Linked DNA regions of Homo sapiens: regions 1 and 2 are each linked to region 3. Evidence: promoter capture Hi-C in human tissues and cell types (Jung and others, 2019). All regions are on one chromosome and are shown on one strand. Each heading gives the region's core, a stretch centred on a gene start or on the middle of the fragment in contact. The rest is flanking DNA. Distances are from core to core; before and after follow the strand shown.

What was found. Contacts are between HindIII fragments. The study calls those that stand out against the background at their distance.
Region 1: a fragment that was not itself captured here is called in contact with the fragment with the promoter of FBLN5 in region 3 in 2 of the 25 tissues and cell types used here (mesenchymal stem cells and small bowel).
Region 2: a fragment that was not itself captured here is called in contact with the fragment with the promoter of FBLN5 in region 3 in 2 of the 25 tissues and cell types used here (adrenal gland and bladder).

What each region holds. Positions count from the first base shown.
Region 1 is chr14:91,822,047-91,825,950 of GRCh38, reverse strand. The region is part of intron 1 of TC2N (tandem C2 domains, nuclear); the gene reads left to right. Among named protein-coding and RNA genes, the nearest start is that of TC2N, 44 kb to the left of the region's middle. The HindIII fragment of the contact is 3,467 bases long and covers 826-3,904 here.
Region 2 is chr14:91,851,796-91,855,484 of GRCh38, reverse strand. The region is part of intron 1 of TC2N (tandem C2 domains, nuclear); the gene reads left to right. Among named protein-coding and RNA genes, the nearest start is that of TC2N, 14 kb to the left of the region's middle. The HindIII fragment of the contact is 4,085 bases long and covers 1-3,306 here.
Region 3 is chr14:91,946,264-91,950,032 of GRCh38, reverse strand. It overlaps FBLN5 (fibulin 5), which reads left to right and starts at 2,339. Exons shown (of 11, transcript NM_006329.4): 1 at 2,339-2,820. The coding sequence starts at 2,804. The HindIII fragment of the contact is 12,789 bases long and covers 1-3,769 here.

The DNA.
Region 1 (3,904 bases), core at 1,310-3,809, 120 kb after region 3:
TGGAACATTTATTAAAATTGATGATATACTATGAATATCATTGATTGTATACAATTTCTCTGATCACAGTGGAATTCAGCTACAAATCAATATCAATAAGATAGCCAGGAAATCTAAATTAAAGAAAAACAAAAGAATAAGACAGATGGAGAACTGAAATAGGGCTTTGTTATTAATAAAGCTAATTTAGATATGGCATGTATCTGCAGGCAAGTAGGTTTTCTAATACAGACAAATCTTTCTCAAAGAAACTAGAGACAGCAAGAAGCATTCCTACCCTAACGTAGTTCAAAGGTGCAAAAGTAAAAAAGAGAATGGTGTGTTTCTAGCACATCAGGTAGTTATATTTTGAAGCTTGGTATTTGCAGAAGGAAGTAGTGGAAGATGAGCAAGAGAAGGGTCACATATTGTATTTAGCAGAATAAATTTTATCCTGAAAGTGATAGAGAGATATAGCATTACTTAAAGCAGACGAAGGACCTTAGCAGCACAGTGGGGGGATAAAAAGAATTTGAAAGGCAAACCTATTAGCTGGCTCTCTGTAATTTGGGGTATCATAACATCTGAATCAAAATAGTCAAATTGAGAATAGAAAGGAAGGTGTGAAAATTACAAGGATGGCCAGGCGCGGTGGCTCACACCTGTAATCCCAGCACTTTGGGAGGCCGACGCGGGTGGATCACGAGGTTAGGAGTTCAAGACCAACCTGGCCAAGATGGTGAAACCCCGTCTCTACTAAAAATACAAAAATTAGCCGGGCATGGTAGCGGGTGCCTGTAATCCCAGCTACTCAGGAGGCTGAGGCAGGGAATTGCTTGAATCCGGAGGCGGAGGTTGCAGTGAGCCAAGATCGCACCACTGCACTCCAGCCTGGATGACAGAGCGAGACTCCATCTCCAAAAAAAAAAAAAAAAAAAAAAAAAAGAAAAGAAAAAGAAAATTACAAGGATTAAGGGGCTCTACTCAACAGAATTCTAGCCCTTGCCTATTTCACAGTTCACCTGCTAACTACTCTTTCTGTTGCTTAGTACCTTGCAAAATAATGCAAAGTGGGTACAACTCAAGATTTTTGCAATTTCTGGAATGCTCCACCATCAAGAACTTTGCTAGCTGATCCTTTCTTGTGTTTATGTTCCAGCTGGATTGTTACCTCCTCAGAGAAGTCTTTTCTGATTATACAAAGTTAACATTCATTCCTTTTGAATCCTGGTTAATTTTCCTCATTGGATTGAATGTATCATGTGTTTGTTTATTTTTCTGTTTATCTCCCTCCTCTGTTGTAAGCGCTCCAAAAGCTTGTCTGTCTTGTTCCCTATTTTGTCTTCAGTGCCTAGCAAATTGCCTAGTACATAGTAGATGCTCAATAAATGCTTGTAAGTGAATGGATGAATTGGATGTGTGGATTTTGGGAGCAGAAGGACTCAAGAATGGCACTTGTATTTCTGGCTTAGTTAATTAGCTGGATAGTGGCACTGTAGTAGGAAATACCAGAGGAAAAGCAGGTTTGCAGGGGAAAGTCGTGATGATGTACTGTCCTTTATTTGTGAGAATACCATAGACAGGCTGTTCCTAGACTATGTCAGACCAGCAGAGGCAAATAAGCCCTTTGGGAATCTCAAAAGGAAGTGATATTAAAAGTATTTTAACAACTTGTCGTGCATGAGCACTGACTGTAATATTGGAGCAGAGTCATGGAGGCCCCTGCTTTTTCAGACATTTACCTCAGGGGTGCCTAGGGAGGAGTTAAAGTGACTAGGGTGTTTATAGCTTTTATCTATTGATATGGAAGTATTTAAGTCTTTTTACAATCTGTCCTCATACTAGAATGTTCTAGCTAAATGTCCCCATATCATTTCTGGCATTGGGTAAAGTGCCTAGCATGAATCAGATCTGTTGTAAGTGGGATCTGATGATAATAAATATAATAATGATGCCGCTGATGACAGCAAACATTTATTCTTAAAACAGCCCTACCACTAGTTTTATACTTTATGTGCATTACTTTGGTTGATCATCACAATAGCCCTAAGAAGTGTTTTGTTGTTGTTGTTGTTGTTGTTTTTTAATTGATGAAGAAGTTGAAGGTTAAAAAGGTTAAGTAACAGATTTAAGGTCATATAGCTAATAAGTGAAAGTTACAGGATTGGAACATAGGCAGTATACTTTTAACCATTTATATTTGTTTCTCCTTGTTGCTAAAAAAGCAAACATGTGGCTATGTAGATAGCCAGCACATAGTCTGTTAACCTGACTGGTCCTGCCCTTCTACCCATACCCTACCTAAAGCAATGTGGTGTATTAGAAAAAGTTGTGAAGCTTAGGGTTTGGTTCTAAACCTAACATTATCTAGTTGCTTGACTCATTATTTTCTTTGGGTAAAATTAGAAGGACTTTGATAAAATGATTTCTTTTTTCTTTTTTTTTTTTTTTGAGATGGAATTTTGCTCTTGTTGCCCAGTCTGGAGTGCAATGGCGTGATCTCGGCTCACTGCAACCTCCGCCTCCCGGGTTCAAGTGGTTCTCCTGCCTCAGCCTCCTGAGTAGCTGGGATTACAGGCATGTGCCACCATGCCCAACTAATTTTTTATTTTTAGTAGAGATGGGGTTTCTTCAGGTTGGTCAGGCTGGTCTCGAACTCCCGACCTTAGGTGATCCACCCGCCTTGGCCTCCCAAAGTGCTGGGACTACAGGCATGAGCCACCATGCCTGGCCCCTGATAAAATGATTTCTAAGCCTTCGGCTCTGCTAATGTTTTTGAGGCCTCTTTTTCTGTTAATGTTCTGTAATTCTACTTATGTATTATTTTTTCAGGTTTATTGAGGTCTAATTGATATGTAGTAAGTTACATATACTTGAAATCGATAATTTGATGTTTTCATGTTTTCATGTATGTATGTACCTATGAAACCATCACCACAGTCAAGATAATGAGTATAGGCTCGGCACGGTGGCTCATGCCTGTAATCCCAGCACTTTGGGAGGCTGAAGCAGGCGGATCACGAGGTCAGGAGATCGAGACCATCCTGGCTAACACGGTGAAACCCCGTCTCTACTAAAAAATACAAAAAATTAGCCATGCGTGGTGGTGGGCACCTGTAGTCCCAGCTACTTGGGAGGCTAAGGCAGGAGAATGGCGTGAACCCAGAAGACAGAGCTTACAGTGAGCAGAGATCACGCCACTGCACTCCAGCCTGGGCGACAGAGCGAGACACTGTCTCAAAAAAAAAAAAAAAAAAGATAATGAGTATATTACCCCCACTCCAAAGTTTCCTCCTGCCCCACCAAGTCCTTCCTTTCTGTCCCTCTCTGTGCTTCATCTCCCCACTCCTCACTGTCCCGAGGCAGCCTCTGATCTACTTTTTGTTACTATTGATTAATTTCCATTTTCTACAATTTTATATAAATTGAATCATGCAGTGGAGTTCAGCTACAAATCAGTATTAATAAGATAGCTAGAAAAGCCAAATTAAAGACAAAATAAGAACTGAAATATGACTTTGTTATTAATAAAGCAAATGCAAGAGAATATGGCACATATCTGTATGGCACATACTCTTTTTGTTGGCATTCTTTTGCCCAGCATAATTATTTTGAGATTCATCCATATTGTTGCATGTTTAACCAGCTTACTTCTTTATTTCTGAGTAGTGTTCCATTGAGCCACAGTTTGTTTTCTAAATGGATTAATCTGTTGATAGATACTTGATAGTTTTCAATTTTTGGCTATTTTGAATAGATTTGCTATGAACACCAGTGTACAACTCTTTGTGTAAACATGTGATTGCTTTTTTCTTAAGTAAATATGTAGTAATGGCATGTCTGGATCATGTAGCAGGTATATGTTCAACTTTAGAAACTTGTCAAACTGTTTTCTAAAGTGGTCATGCCATTTTACAGTCCCACC
Region 2 (3,689 bases), core at 15-2,514, 93 kb after region 3:
AGATGGAAGCAGAGTTGGAGTTTTGAGGCTATAAGCCAAGGAACTTCAAGGATTTACATGACCAACAGAAGCTAGGAAGAGGCAGGGAAGGATTCTCCCCTAGAGCCTCTGGAGGGAGCATGGCCCTGCTGACTCCTTGATTTTGGACTTCTGGCCTCCAGAACTGTGAGAGAATAAACGTCTGTTGTTTTAAGCCACTCGGTTTGTGGTACATTGTACAGCAGCCCTAGAAATTAATACAGTGCATTTGCATTTGGGTCTGTAGGCAAATTTCCTGAGGATTTGGGAGTGGAAGGTGGGACAGAAGCGAACCTGCTTTTCAGCCCTCCATCCCTGCCGTTCCACTGGTTCCCACTTCAACCACCCATCCTTCCTTTCCCCTGCTCAACTTGTTTCTTCATCTCCTCTTTCTACACAGTCCCCAAACTCCAAATTCATCCTACTCTATTATGCAGAACTCCAGCTCCCAAACTCAGCTCCCAGCCCATTGTTCAGGTCAGAACCCCTCCAGATCCTCAGCTGCACAAAAATACGTTGCAAGGAATAGCAGCCTCCTCTCAGAAGGGAGAGGTGAGTTTAAAAAGCTATCCCTATCCCTCTTTGGGGAGGACTGGCTCCTTCTCTATTTCCTGTCCTTCAGTCTAGCAGAGGCAATGGGGTGGGCTGAGCCAGGCTTTGCTCTCCCCTACTCCTCAGAATATTCAGGGTATGGATTGTGGAAGTGGAGAGGGACCTGTCCGTCTGTCAGTTAGTCTAGACTGATAAGACTGTCCCCTGTGTCTGAATGCTTCCCTGGGTGCTTCAAGGAGATACTAAAGGAATACAAGAGGTTGTCCCTCCCTAGAGGAACACTCCAAAGACAACCCTTAGTCTTTCTTCTTTAAAAAGCTTTGTTCAGTTTGTTTGGTCTTTTGCATCTTCAAATAGGAATCTCTTATGTTTTACCCCCTCCTCCTCCTCCTCCTCCTCCTCCTCCACCTCCTTCTCCTCCTCTCCACCTCCCCTATCTCCTCCTCCTTCCCCTCCCCCTCTCCTATCTCCTCCTCCTCCTTCCCCTCCCCCTCCCCCTCCTCCTCCTCCTCCTCCTCATCTTATGTGTAGAGCTTTTAAAAGTTCTGTCACTTGCTATTTTATTTTATTTCTTATCCTCGTACATTTCTAAGACCCATGGGTAAGTATTTTTCCTTCCAGTTTCTATAGGAAATAAGGAAAATCAAGCCCAGGGTAAAGTAAGTTGCCCAAGATTATCTGTGTTTAAGCCACAGAACTTGCCCTAAACTCTAGGCCAGTACCCTGTCTGCAAACCCTATGGCTTTCTTAGAGTGGTCAGAAGCTGTGCCTTTAGCCTGGAAAAACCTATTTAACTTAGATCAGCCATCTCCTGTTAGAGCTAGAGCTGAAGTTTGGTTCCACTTCAAAACCACGCTGTGTTTTAAGACTTCTAACCTATTTTTAAATTTAAGTTTATAAATCAGTTTTTAAAACTCTGTATTTTGACTCTGGATTCAGAGAAATATTCTTACTAGGTTACACGAATATTTTGAAACTCAGTACTTACTTTTTTTTTTAATTCAATAAAAGTTTGCACAAACAATGCATCCCACAGGAGAAGCTTATGCCAGATCCCAGATGTTTAACACGTTTGCTTCAGATATTAAGAGTTCATGGCCTCTTGTGCTTGTTAAACCAAAAAATGCAAGCCCATAGAAATGATTTTTAATAACTAGGAGTGCTGCAAGGTCAGGCTGAATTCTGGGCAACTGCAGCACTTCAATAACTTTTTTGATCACAGATTGTGTGTGTGTGTGTGTGTGTGTGTGTGTGTGTGTGTGTGTACTTTAAAAAAAAAAAAAAATCCAAGCAGAGAATTCAGTGAAGGGCAGCATGAACTCTTACTTTTGACTCAATTTCACTTCAATTGATACATGCAGAAATGTTCAAAAAGTTCCTTTTCTAATTCTGACATCAACTATCTAGTTTGTAATCACTTACCTGGGTCTGCCATGCAATGAACCAACCATCTACTATTGAGTCTTGGGGTTCAGAATGCCATTATCGCAGTGAACATCTACTGGGGACTGACTGTGCCAATTATTATGCTGTGTATATATCATTTAACCCTCATACCTGGCACCTTCACTCCTACACCCTGAGTCCCAGCCACCTTCCTCTCTCACCTTCATTATAGGCAGAATCAGTTACCTGGTCCCTCTGCCTTCACCTCTGCCCCTGTCCCTTCCATTCTATTCTCAACCCAACAGTTGGAGTGATCTGTACTAAGGTGAAATCAGTTCATGTCATTTCTCAACTCCAAACTCTCCAATGGCTTCTCAGCCTATTTAGAGTAGCAGCAAATGTTTAATAACAGCCATGTTGTGTTTTTGTTGTCGTTGTTTGTTTGTTTGTTTGTTTTTTAGATGGAGTCTCTCTCTGTCGCCCAGGCTGGAGTGCAGTGGCGGGATCTCAGCTCACTGCAAGCTCTGCCTCCCAGGTTCACGCCATTCTCCTGCCTCAGCCTCCCGAGTAGCTGGGATTACAGGCACCCACCACCACGCCTGGCTAATTTTTTGTATTTTTAGTAGAGACGGGGTTTCACCGTGTTAGCCAGGATGGTCTCGATCTCCTGACCTCATGATCTGCCCCCTCTGCCTCCCAAAGTGCTGAGATTCCAGGCGTGAGCCACTATGCCTGGCCAACTCTACCCCATGTTCTTCTGCCCTCTCTTCCTACCCTTCTCTTTCTCTTTCTCTTGCTCCAGTGGGTCTGGCCCTCTCACTGTTCCTCAAACATGTCATGCAAATTTCTTGACATGGTATGGTTTACTGGTCAAGCTAAGATTAAAGCACACACATTATATTACATCTATTAAGGTAGGAAAGTGGGAGATCATTTGCTTTAAACAACCAGTTAGTGATCTATTGGTGGGGGTAACAAAATTCAAAAATTCTTGATACTCTATTCTTTCACAACAATCTTTGCTTTAGGAAATGTGATCAAAGGCAGGTTTCCCGATTGAAAAAGTTAAGGCTAGTGAGGCAGAGCATTTTTTTTTTTAGACGGAGTTTCACTGTTGTTGCCCAGGCTGGAGTGAAATGGCATGATCTCCGCTCACCGCAACCTCCGCCTCCTGGGTTCAAGCGATTCTCCTACCTCAGCCTCCCGAGTAGCTGGGACTACAGGCATGCACCACCACACCCGGCTAAGGTTTTTGTATTTTTAGCTAGAGACGGGGTTTCTCCATGTTGTTCAGGCTGGTCTCAAATTCCCAACCTCAGGTGATCTGCCCGCCTCGGCCTCCCAAAGTGCTGGGATTACAGGCGTGAGCCACCGCGCTTGGCCGCATTTTTATTCCAATAGAGTATGCCTATTGCTGAGAGACTGTCTGTTTTCACAAGTACAATGTTAAGGATTGTGAAATTTACATTATGGGAATCTAGTACCTGTGATTAACTTATTGAAGCATTGAATGAGCAATGATACTTGAAAACTAAGGCCATCTTGAATAGTTAGAAAATGAATCATTTTGGGAAATGTACTTCAGATAATTCAGAAAATACTTTTTGAAGCACTAAACCTTTAAATAACTTTAGTTATTTTGATGGATGCTAAAAATAAAGTGTGGACCACTTTTTGTCTTAGTAGCTAGACTCCACCACGTATAGAGTTTTACTTCATGATGATCCAGGATA
Region 3 (3,769 bases), core at 1,090-3,589:
TTTCCAATTGTCTGCCTGATTTCCCTCCTAGGAGATGGTTACAGACCATATGTTTAAACCCCCAGATTCATATGTTGAAATCTGAATCCCCAAGGTGATGGCTCTAGGAGATGAGGCCTTCAGCAGGTGATTAGATCATGAGGGTGAAGCTCTCACGAATGGGACCAGTGCCCTTATAAAAGGAATCCCAGTCTCTGGCCAGGCGCGGTGGCTCAAGCCTGTAATCTCAGCATTTTGGGAGGCCGAGGCCCATGGATTGCTTGAGCCCAGGAGTTCAAGACCAGCCTGGCCAACATGGCAAAACCCCATCTCTACTAAAAATACAAAAATTAGCCAGGCACGGTGGTGCGTGCCTATAATCCCAGCTACTTGGGAGGCTGAAGCAGGAGAATTGCCTGAACTTGGGAGGTAGAACTTGCAGTGAGCCGAGATTACACCACCATACTCCAGCCTGGGCGAGAGAGTGAGACTCCATCTCAAAAAAAGGAACCCTAGTCTCCCTCTCTCCATCATGTGAGGACATAGCAAGAAGACAGTCATCTGCAACCAGGAGAGGACCCTCATGAGAACCTGGCTATGCCCACACCCTGATCTCAGACTTCCAGCCTCCAGAACTGGGAGAGATAAATGTTATTGCATAAACCACCCAGTCTATGGTATTCTGTTATAGCAGCCTGAGCTAAGACCAATAATACTCATGGTTTCTTGTGCATCCTTCAGGTGATGTCTTTTCTGTACGTGTACAAGCAAGAACTTATGTATTTATTTTTTTTCCCACAAATGATGGCATGCTTTACACACAGTTCTGCAGCTTACTTTTTACATTTATTACTATATTAGATCAATCTATGTGAAATTACCAATATTCTACTGTTTTGACCCACAAAATATATTGGAAACCCTTCAATAGCAGTGCATACGGAGCTGTTTCAGTCTTTTTTTCAAAATAAGATATAACATACATAAGACTTCACAAATATTAAATGTACACACCCCTACATAACCAGCATCCAGATCAATCATTAGATTATTACCAGCACCCAGAAGGGGCTGGGCTGCCTCCCAGTCACTATCTGACTTTGAATTTTATATAAATGGAGTCGTTTGATGTGGACTCTTAAGTGTCTAGGTTTTAATTGGTTGCACAATAGTCCCTTTGGAAGCCCCTTACTTTATTTAACCCTATTGGTGCCTTGCTGATCGACCTTAAAGGTGTTTATAATCTTTTGCTTTTACAAACAATGGGGGGATGAACAACCTTATAAACATAAGGTATTTAAAAAAGTGTTTTACAGGAAATTTCAAACACGTAAAAGGAAATAGATTAGACTAGTATAATGGACACAGCTTCAACAACTATCCACATTCTGTTATTCTCCTTTGGGTAGAATTCCATTTACTTACCCCCAAAAATGCCTTAGGGAAGGCTAAATATGTAGACTCCAGAGGCTCAGCTGTACCAATGAATAGCTGCGTGACTATGGGGAGGTTACCTAACCTCTCTTATCTTCACCTCTAATAACATGGAGATGATCATTCCTACTGCTTAGAGTGGTGGTGAGGACAGGGGACCTGGATCAGGGCTTTTCGGCTGCAGGTAGGAAGATGCAGGTGGAAGCAGATGGGATAGGCCACAGTCCATCCACTGGCGTTTTATAGAGTGAGTGCCTTCTGTAAGATTTCATTGACAAAAGTACTCCAATGGCTTAAAAACAAACAAACAAACAAACAAACAAACAGGAAAAAGAAACAGGTTGAAGCCTCCACTAGAATGAATGCAAAGGACTCAGCATGTCTTATGTGCTGTCTCCACCATTCTGCTTTTCCAGACTGTCCCTTCTTCAAATCACCGTTTAACTTGTTAAAATCACTTTCGAGCCAGGGGACACTTTTCCAGGAAAGCGAGAAAATGCCAGGGAGAATCGGGGAATGAGGGCGGGGAGAGAAAAGCGTCCTAAGACTTGCATTGCACAAGCTGAAGTCTGGAATTCGCACCAGCGGGATTCCATCCTCTTCCCCCCCACCCCACCCCGCTGCTCCCCACCCCTTCTTCGGGAAGATCGCGACTCTCCCGTCGCTCGCCCCAAGCCTCTGCTTCGTAGGTTCTGGTTTCCCAATCGATCGTGAGTTTCTAGTCCCTGGAGCTGCGTGGGTCGTGAGTTCAAGTCCCTTTCCTTCCGGAGGCGACAACGTTCTCGCGGGTCCCCTTGCCACGCAGCGCGGGCGTGCACGCCCCTCCCCGCCGGGCCGCGCTGCCAGCCCCGCCCCGCCCCTGGGTGGGAAGGTCAAGGGGCCCGGGCCCTCCCAGCCCCCGCACCCCTGCGCGCGCCCGCCCCTCGCCTTCTGCCCGGGCGCTCGCAGCCGAGCGCGGCCGGGGAAGGGCTCTCCTCCCAGCGCCGAGCACTGGGCCCTGGCAGACGCCCCAAGATTGTTGTGAGGAGTCTAGCCAGTTGGTGAGCGCTGTAATCTGAACCAGCTGTGTCCAGACTGAGGCCCCATTTGCATTGTTTAACATACTTAGAAAATGAAGTGTTCATTTTTAACATTCCTCCTCCAATTGGTTTAATGCTGAATTACTGAAGAGGGCTAAGCAAAACCAGGTGCTTGCGCTGAGGGCTCTGCAGTGGCTGGGAGGACCCCGGCGCTCTCCCCGTGTCCTCTCCACGACTCGCTCGGCCCCTCTGGAATAAAACACCCGCGAGCCCCGAGGGCCCAGAGGAGGCCGACGTGCCCGAGCTCCTCCGGGGGTCCCGCCCGCGAGCTTTCTTCTCGCCTTCGCATCTCCTCCTCGCGCGTCTTGGACATGCCAGGAATAAAAAGGTGGGTTCTCGGCGCTGGACTTTTCTTTCTCCAGGGTCTGGAAGCCTTGCTAAAAATCCGATGGGTGGAAAATGGTTATGGCTGCGATTCAGGCGGTGTCAGGATATTGGAAAAGGCATGAGCTAGTGATGCAATGATATTGTTAATTATAAAAAGCTGCGCCTCTGTAATTTCCATCTTGAAGCGTTCTTTTGGGAGTGGGTATTTTCTAATACAGTTTCAAAAGCCAGCATCAGAGAGGGCTGCGAAATTCTCAGCGCTTCATTCCTCTTTCTTTTCTGGAAAGGGCAGCAACTTTGTCGTTTTAAGGGATTTTTGTATGTATTTTTTAAATTTCGGGAGGCCAATTACTAGTTCACTAGCAATTACTGCGCCGCATCGGCTGATAGACAAGCAGACAGGCTAGCTGAACACCGCGGGGCTGGATTTGCTCTATGTTTGTGTGGGATTCTCACAGAAGTTTCAAGCCAATGAGAAGTGGGAACTGCAGACAGAGATACATGTAAGCAAATGTTTTGCTATTCTTTAAGGAAATTGCAATTACAGTTAAGTAATCCTTAAGTCTTGGAGAACTTTACCTAAATGACACCCACAGTCTTTATTCAGCGAGCTCTTGAAAACATACTGCTTTGAACAAATTAACCTTGTGTGCGTATGTATGTGTCTGTGGGGTGTGTGTGTGTGTGTGTGTGTGCTGAAAACTAAGCTGTAACAATGTCATCCTGGATTGGGGACCAGCACTTCTGTGACAGGCAGTCCTGGTATTTGGTTGGTCTCTCCGGCTTTCCTTGTGTTTCAGGCTGAGGCACAACACCGGCGAACCCACCTGCTTTAGAAAGTTCCCAGGACCGGTTATGAGCACCAACCTGCCTCCCCCCAGCTATTCTTATAGTTAGTTCATTTTTGGAGTTTCCAGGGTTTTTTTTTTTTAATCACAAGGTGCAGCTAT